Linked DNA regions of Homo sapiens: region 2 is linked to region 1. The links are contacts of gene promoters, found by promoter capture Hi-C in blood cells and fetal thymus (Javierre and others, 2016). All regions are on one chromosome and are shown on one strand. The core of a region is centred on a gene start or on the middle of the fragment in contact, and the rest is flanking DNA. Distances in the headings are between cores, read along the strand shown. Region 1 holds the start of SGO1 (shugoshin 1). Region 2 has its middle 220 kb from the start of MIR4791.

Region 1 (4,533 bases), core at 1,432-3,931:
AAGGAATATGTGCATTCTTCCTGGGAAGAGTTGTAGTTTCCACAAAATTTTAAAAGAGCTATTGATTCCAACAGTAATTCAGTTCCCTAAAATCAGCGGCAGTAGAACATTTTGATGTACAAAAGTTACTCATGCTAGGACTCTGGTGGTATTTTCCCTCACTGCCCCTAAATTCAGCCATTTCTATTCTTTAGGGCTCTATAATAAACACCTGATTTGAAGTCTGACCCATTTTTAAATTGGGAACGGGGAAGACACCCCTCAAAAAGTCAGAACCTCAAAGCCTTTGGTCAGGGCCAGCTATATAATCTGTGTGGGTCAATGTGAAATGAAAATATGATGCTCCTTGTTCAAAATCCAAGACAAAAACCTTCAGCTTACCGATAAGTAGAGAAAGACTGAAAAGAAAAGGAATTGTGGAATGTCTTATCTTTCCTTTTCCTTTCATGCCATCACTTTTAGTGTAAGTGGTTAGAAAATATAGTAACGTGGTTGGGCATGATGGCTTAGCCTGTAATCCCAGTTTGGAAGGCTGAGGCAGACAGATCACTTGAGCTCAGGAGTTTGAGACCAGCCTAGGCAACATGGCAAAACTCTGTCTCTACAAAAAAATACAAAAATTAGGGGGCGTAGTGGTGGGTCCCTGTAATCCCAGCTACCTGGGAGGCTGAGGCAGGAGAACTGCTTGAACCTGGGAGGCAGAGGTTGCAGTGAGCTAAGATGATGTCACTGCACTCCAACCTGGGAGACACAGCAAAACTCCGTCTCAAAGAAAATAATAATAATTTCAAGAGGGCAAGGGTGAGCCCTTCTGAGCACTTTGTACTTAGGTCCCTAACTACAAAATAAGTGGTTCATGGAGGCCATTTAGTGCGCATCCTGAACATTGTATGACATGGGGCAAGAAACAGTGACAGACACACACATTGCATGAATCACATCTGCTCACAAGATTGCTCCATTGTCTCATCAGACATCACTTACAAAACATAAGTTCAAATATAAACTCCTAAGCATTTCAAGACGGCAACAGCAGAGCATTAAACCAAATGTACAGCCCTTCTAAGCACCGGTTGCCTGCTCATGAAGCTGGCCCTATTCTCTGCTCTCATGTTCCACTTCATAATTTTCTGACCTCAAACAACAAAAAACCTCTCTGCCCATTCCTTCTTGATGCTTCTACACATATAAGCCACATTGCCCAGTGGCAGTAAACTGAGGGTTAATGGAGTTGGTCTGGTTAACTTGGAAAACGAGGGAGTTGTTGGCTGGAGAAGGGTGTTTCAGCCTCTTCCACTCAAGCCAGGATGGGTACCCAGACTAGAGCAAGCATGTGTTAGCTACCTTTAAAAAACAACAACACACCTTCATAAAGAATGCCTAGATTCAAAACATTTGTTTCGTTTTCATTTATTTGTTCCTTTATTGTCCCAGTGAATATTTACTACTTACTTCAAATTGCAACGAGATGCTGACAATTTAGCTATGAACAAAGCAGATGTAGTTCCTGCCCTTATTCAACTTCAAGAAACAGGCAATGAACGACAAGTCAGTGTCACAAGGAATACCAAGGGGAAAATGCAGGGCACTAAGAAAGTGTAAAGCAGACACTCAGGGGCTTTAGGGGTAGATAAGTCTTTCTGGAAGAATTCATCTGTACAGTGAAACTTCAGTATACATAGGAGTAAGTTCGGCCAAGGGAAAGAGTGTTCTTGACAGAACAGCATTGGCAAAAGTGGCAAGAATTTTAAGAAAATTAAAGAAAATGTACAAGTGATGGAACCAGGAATCATGGGGCTCTTTAAGGACAAAATATCTTAAAGGAGTTTGAAATTCACCTTAAATGCAATAGGGAGCCATTGTAAAGTTTCCTATTTGATACTTGTTTTGTAAAAATATTAATCTATGAAGAATATAGGGAGTGGAGTCTGCGGTCAGAGTGGGTACTAGTGCAATTTAGGGAATGAGATTAGGCTGGAAGCTGGATTGGGGGGAAAAAGATGGGCATGAGAGAAACTTGGAAAGCAGAGTTGAGAAGATCGTGTGACCGACTGGACGGGCAAAGGTTAAGAGAGGATAAATAATCATTAAGGACGATTTCTCAGGCTTCTAGTCGGTAACTGGATGGATGTTGGTGCCATTTCTCGAGAAGAGTTAAAGAGCCAGAGATAGCCGGCAAAGAGAAACATGGAGCTAGAATTTTCAGGTATCTGCAGTTTCCCTAATACCTTTTTAATCCAGAATTTGCTCCTTGTTTTGGTTTTAATTCCTCTAAAAGCTGCTTCCGTGTTGCAAGCTGGCTGACCGCTTTAACAGGCAACCAAAGAGATTCTTCTCACAAGAGGGAGGCTTTGAGCACAACCCGGGACATTTGAAGCTGTCAGACTGAAGAAACAGGAAGCTTTGAACTACCTATCACACTCGGCCTTAAAGGTTTCGGAGTAACTCCACCCGTAAAATCCCCACGACTCTGATTAGAAAGTCCCGGCGGGTCGCCGAGACCCGACCGCAGGCTCCGCCCCAGGGCCAGGTGGATGCCCGGATGTGGACTTGAGCGAATGTGCGTCACGTGACGTCGCCTGGCGGGGCGGGACTCTGCCTGCGACGGTGGTGTTGGGTGCATCCTGCGCCACGTGACCGCCTCCCAGCCAACCAATGGAGGAGCGAGGCGGAAAATTTCGAATGTGGCGGCGGTAGTTCCAGGCGACGGCGGACGGTGGTACGGTCCTGGAGGGCCCAGTGCGCGGGGCTAGCCGTGGCTGGAGAGCTTCGAAGAGCCTTGAAATGTGAGGAGGAGGAAGATAGCTGTTGCAGAAGTAGTGGCCAAGGTATCGTTCTGGACGCGCCTGCGGCAGGAGGGTCGCCGCGTCCACTTCCGCCAGCCCCACCTCCCCCCGGCCTTCCTGGAGTCCCTGAAAGAGGAAGAAGTAGGTTTTAAGGTGCGAAACAAGGGCGTAGTGATCCCTGTTTGACTTCCCTTCGGTTTTCAGTATCATTCTAAATTCGGTGGCCGAAAGCTCGGGCCGTGGAGTCCCACTCGCCGCGCTTTTCGCCGTTCAGCCACTCGATCTGCGCTTTCAGATGTTCCGGCTTCCATGGAGACCCTAATTTCCTACTTTGCAAAATTGTGTAGATTAAGTGATGTGCAAATAAAGCTTTTACAATAGCTAAAAGCCTGGCTCAACGTAAGGACACAAGAAAATTGACAGCAGTTCTTTGTGCAGCGTGATACCGTTGACGTCCTCCTTGTCCAGGCCATTCTCTTCCTCACTTACCCTGGAGAGGCCGGCACTGACTAGTATCCTACCTGGCTGTCTTCGCAGCAGGACTAATTGGAGAATTATGGACGGAGATCAAATATGCTAGGTTCTTTAAATCCAGAGCGCTTACACGAGTACTGTACAGATTGAGACCGTCATCTCGCGCTGTGGTCTGTCTTTGCTTTCATCCCTTCTGTCTACCACACCCCCTGCTAATAACCATCGCCTTATTTAGACAGGATATAAAACTTTTGATATGGCAAGTTTCTTTTGTGATTTTTAACTTGATTAAAAGTAATAACGAAAGCTTTTTAGGTAAGGCTTTGCCTTTAAAATACCTTAACTAAACTAGATCCGTTACTTAATCTGTATGACTCTCAAACATCTCCAATTCTAACTTAATTGTGTAAAACAACCCCTTTACCGTTCGTGCTTTTAAAAATAGCTACCCTATCTCTGCTAGGAACCTCCCAGTACATATTGTATATACCTTGGTAGAAAGAAAGTTCTTAAGTGGTATCTACAATACCTATATTTAAGATTCCAGACACTGCATAGAGGAAAATAAGGCCTGGAGGAAATACTCAAGATTAAGTGTAAGGTTTAGGAAAATATTTGACTATCGTAGAGGAGATGAAGATATCCTTTGTAGTGAAAATTCTGTGCATAGATTGTTATTGGAAACAAGTCTTTTTTTTTTGCAATTTTAAGATCTGCAAAGTGCAATCTAGCGTAAAAGATGTTTGTGAAAAGTGGTTTGACATGTTTAGTAGCATGCTAAAGCCTACCTGATTTGCAACGTTGAAAGATTAAGTATAGTTATGTATTTAATACTCAACGTTTAACTGTATGTACAACAATATTTAATGTCTGATTTGTTATGTTCATAATTTACTGGGAGTTAACAGCCCTAACTTTTAGCCACAGTTTGAGAATACTAGAGTGTTCCTCTGCCCAAGTTCCTGCTCTAGCTCTGTACTTGTTACAATAGCCTATTAAAATTGTATGTAGTGCTACATAGTTTAAACCTCTAAGGAGTACCTTGACTTTCTTGAGACTGTGTGCATATCATAAGTGATAATTGCGTTTAAAGAGTATGGAAAAATAGTTGAATGACCTAATCTGATGAATTAATCATTAGAGAAGAGCTGGAAAACAAAACCCAAATATATAATTGCCTCAGAACTAATGCTGTAAGCTTAAGCAGTAAAAGTTGGTCCTAAACATTTTCTATAAAAAGTGTAAATAATGCATCAAAATATAATAATAAGCA
Region 2 (4,533 bases), core at 909-3,408, 650 kb after region 1:
GCACAGTGCTGCTCTTATGGCTTATATATGGAGCTGGTTTTGTGTTGCAGTATAAAGCTCTGATTTCTGAACACAACAACCATGTTTAAGCAAAATGAGGAAAAACATTAGGTAGTTTTTCCATGGGACACATTGTCTGTAGTCTTGAGGGAGGAACTTCTGTCTCAGCTCATGGTTCACAAGACCTACAATTGTGATCTGCTCTTGTAACCAACAATTATTCTTTTCCCAAGCTCAGACTCATGAAACTGAGATATGCCAATGATATCTGAGGAATAAAATCCTTCACAATGATATCTCTAAGCTAAACTAGAAATGATAGAATAGACGGCATTTTGGGGAGCCTATTCTAATCAGAAAGTGATATGTCCATCAACTAGTATGGTTTTAAAACATAGAGGAGTATTTGAAGTGGAAAGAAGATGATGAGTCTCCAGGAGGAAGGTTGATATTGATACACATCTTGTTATACACCTATACATAACTATATGCACATTCCTTCTTGCTTAAACCCTACTTCAGCCAATGCTGGGTCCTTTGTCGACTAGACTAGAGCAGTAGTTCTCGAACTTTAGCTGGTATCAGAAGCACCACAGGTTGCTGGGCCCTACCCCCAGAGTTTCTGATTCTGTATGTGTGCTACCCACACAAACTAAATCAAACTCTTTGTGGTTAGAGCCAGGAATCTGTTTTTTAAAAGCAACATAGGTAATTCTAATGGGTAGCCAGAGTCAAGAACCAGTGTTTGGGTATTTCTTTTTTTCTTTTTCTTTTCTTTTTTCTTTCTTTCTTTCTTTTTTTTTTCAGACAGAGTCTTGCCCTGTCTCCAGGCTGGAGTGCAGTGGCGTGATCTCTGCTCACTGCAATCTCTGCCTCCTGGGTTTAAGCGATTCTCCTGACTCAGCCTCCCAAGTAGCTGGGACTACAGGCGCCCGCCACCATGCGTGGTTAATTTTTGTATTTTTAGTAGAGACGGGGTTTCAGCATGTTAGCCAGGATGGTCTCCATCTCTTGACCTCGTGATACACCCACCTCAGCCTCCCAAAGTGCTGGGATTACAGGTGTGAGCCACCGCACCCGGCCTTGTTCAGGTATTTCTAAGCCTTTAACATGTGCACAAATTACCTGAGAATCTTGTCAAAATGTAGATTCTGATTCACTGCTCTGAGATGGGGGTCCAGGATTTTGCATTTTTAACAAGCTTCCAGATGAAGCTGCTGCTGTTGTCCCGCAAACCACACCCTGCGAACCAAGTGTGAGAAATGTTGTCTTCTTTACCCCTTTTCTGTAGACGTGGTTTTTGTGTAAGTTAACAAGAGATATGCTAAGTGATCTAGGCCCAGGGCTCAAATACCTTTGGGGTACTGGAAGCCAGAGTTGACAATTAGATTTGGTTCCACAGGTTGTCTGATTATAGCAGGAGGAACTCTTATGACTCATTTTGGTCAATAAGTTATCATGGCAACTTTCGGAAATCTGTGTTTCCATCTGAGGGCTTCTGGACATCACTGCCAATCATAGCAAGGGGCCCCAAAGATGCTGAGTGTTGGCCATGTGGCTGCAGCTACCCAGAGGGCTCTGTGTTCCCCAAAAGATGTGGCTGAGTTTGAGCCCCTTCCTTATTAGCATTTAATACTGACCCCCATGCAGAGTTCAGAAATAATTCTCTCTCAGGACAAATAAACCATAGTGAAGAATAAAGCTACAGGAGTAGCATAAAGTTCAGAGTCAGCACTGGTTAAAAAAAATTACCATGGCAAGTAAAAGTGCCAAAGCAAAAGGGTACTCTTTACCCTGGAGGAAATTCTTAAATGAAAGTGGTCCCTTCAACTTAGTATATTAGTTCTTTACAAAAATAAAAAGCACAGACACACTTTTAAGTCTCACTTCCTCTTATTTTATTCTTTGTTGTACTCAAATATATCACATATGTATGTTCTATTTTTATCAAGCCAACTGTGAAAAAAAACCCAGAAGCTTAGCTTCAGCGTCAAATTCCATCCCATTTCCAGCTTCTTATCTCCATAAAGGAAAAACCCAAGTTAAAAGGAAATAGCTTAAGAAGGCATAGTTTTGCCCTTTGGACACATTTTCCCACCAGCTGTTTTTTTTCTGGAATGAACAGCTTATTTAATTACCTGCAATGACAGGTATGTAAGTGCTGGTCTATCTCTGCCTCACTGTGCTGTCCTCATGTCTTTTATACTGTTTATTCAGGGCTTGGTGAATGACACAACTCAAGGAATAGGTTCTTTCAGGACACAAGCTGCAGGGAGTAACATTTAGCTTATTCCCTCTGATGAGACCTACTCACACGGTGGGCTACTAAGGGAAGCTTTGAAGGCATCTGTGTGAAGTGGCAGACATTTCATAAGCTCTGCTTCTAGCCAGAGGAACTGTGGGTAAGAGGGCAACAACATTTGCCACAGAGAAAGCTCTGAGGCTTCTGGCTGATAGTGCTCAGGTCTTCTGTGGCCAGGGATGGTGGTTGTGACATATATGTGTGTGATTTCTAAAGCAACAGCAAATCTCTATAGAAAAACTTTATGGGGAAAAATGGTATGTGTTTGTAGAATATATTTGTGTTAGTGAATAAACTTCCTGTATCTTTCTGTAATTAAAGAGTTCAAAATAAAACTTCACTGAAATTCAGATAGACATATTAGAAGCCACACGGGTTGGGGATAAGGTGGCTGGGGGCAGAAACAGCATGTTTTTCTGCCCTGGTGGCTCTTCAACAACTTTTTTTAAAAAGGTAAATGTTGACTTGATTGTTAACACTGTGATGAATAGACTGTAGGGGACATATTATGAAAGCTACTTTGTGACCTAAGCAGAGAAAATGTCAAAGAGAGGACTCATTTTCCAGAAGGTGGCCTGGAACACTGAGTGAGAGGGAAAAGGAGGAAGCATGAGGAAGGGCCAAGGGGAGAGGAGGGAGCGGGAAAGAGAGAATGGAGAGGATGTAAGTGGGAGGAGGCTGGAGATAAAGGGAGAGCCAGGAAGAAGTTGGGGAAGAGGAGAGGGGGGGCAAGGAAAGGTGAAAAAATCAGGAAGGAGAGGTAAGAAGGAGATGAGGGGAGGAGGGGGAAATAGGAAAGGAACCAGGGGATGAAAGGTCAGGAAGATAAACTGACATTTGTTTAGCGTTTATTGTACGTCGGGTAGTGTGCCTTCACAAAAATTACTTCATTAATTCTCACGAAGACTCTGAAAATTGGATATATTTTATTCTTCAAGTTTTAGATGAAGGAATTGAGGCTCAGATGTCTTAAATAACTTGTCCATATCACAGAGCAAGAAAAAAATGGTTGGAGGCAAACACTCCTTTGTGTTCTTCCAAAACTTCTGCTCCTTTCTCAGCTTAATATTTATTTGGACCATTTGCCTTTCTATAAAGTGAAATAAATAGGCAAAGGAAAGCCTTTTGGAAGAGCCCTTAATAGAGCCTATGCCTGCACTTGTACCCAAGCTCTATTTTCGGTGATGATGGTATCTAAGAGAAGACTACATTTGAAGTACTATATACTTAAAAAAGAAGACATAAAAGCAATGTCTTAAAAAGATGACCTTAGAAAATGAGCTATATATGCCATGAGAATAAGTAGCTTTAGCAAGAACTATTTGGTGCAGGCTGTTTTCATTGTTATGAATAAAATCACAATCTTAACATTAGCAATTCCATTTCACATAGGGGACATCCACAGCAACTGTCATCTGCTGACCAAATAGTTATCTTGCCTCACATACAAATATGATTCCTATCAGATAACTGACCAATTTTTGAAACTTCAGAAGGTATTTTCACTTTTCTTTTTTCTTCTAGAAAATCTAAATGAAACAAGAAAACAAAGATCTATAACAAATCAAGAGGTATAAGTGGTGTAAGACACATAGTAGACAATCATTTTTCATTGAAGTAATTGATGGGTGTTCAAAGCTCTCTTGGAGAAAAGATATCAGTTACTTTGATAAAAAAAGGTCATTGATGTATTTGGAACTGTACAGAAAGAAACTTGTCAGTTTTAATTGGTTTGATTCTAGTTGGTCCATCTTCCCACAGAACCAGCTCATTATAAAACGAAAGGTTGTACTTCTTAGGACAATGTTTTCAGAGTTTATTTCTTGGAACATACATATTAGAATCACTTGGGGACCTAGCTCATGTCTAAGGAGCTGGAGCCCTGAAATCTCTCTTTTAATAAGATCTCCCAGAAGTACATTATTTGAACTAAAGTTGGAGGACTACTGATTTAGGAGTTAATCAGCCTTCTTTATTATACAATTACAGACTCTGGGCTGTCCTTAATAGAATTTCAGTGGTTGTCTACTTACATACAGATTAGCTAGGACTCAGACTTGTACTTCTATAGATTCTAGACCAATACTTCTCAGCCTTTAGTGTATTTGAGTCACCCAGGAAGTTTACCAAATGGTAGATTTTCAGGTCCCATTCAAAGCAGCTGGCTTGAAGCTAGATTATCTGCGTTTCAAATATATACCCCATGTGGTTGTGATGTAGGCATTCTGCTA

What was found. The method cuts DNA at HindIII sites, captures the fragments that hold promoters and counts their contacts. A CHiCAGO score of 5 or more calls a contact.
Region 2: a fragment that was not itself captured here is called in contact with the fragment with the promoter of SGO1 in region 1 in 1 of 17 cell types (total B cells); the score reaches 7.2 in total B cells.

Annotation. Positions count from the first base shown.
Region 1 is chr3:20,184,354-20,188,886 of GRCh38, reverse strand. It overlaps SGO1 (shugoshin 1), which reads left to right and starts at 2,681. Exons shown (of 8, transcript NM_001199251.3): 1 at 2,681-2,939. SGO1-AS1 (SGO1 antisense RNA 1) reads right to left here. Exons shown (of 4, transcript NR_132785.1): 4 at 2,772-2,912. RefSeq lists enhancers at 2,204-2,263, 2,284-2,963. The HindIII fragment of the contact is 754 bases long and covers 2,404-3,157 here.
Region 2 is chr3:19,537,573-19,542,105 of GRCh38, reverse strand. No RefSeq gene overlaps it. Among named protein-coding and RNA genes, the nearest start is that of MIR4791, 220 kb to the right of the region's middle. RefSeq lists a silencer at 510-679 and an enhancer at 1,293-1,402. The HindIII fragment of the contact is 358 bases long and covers 1,980-2,337 here.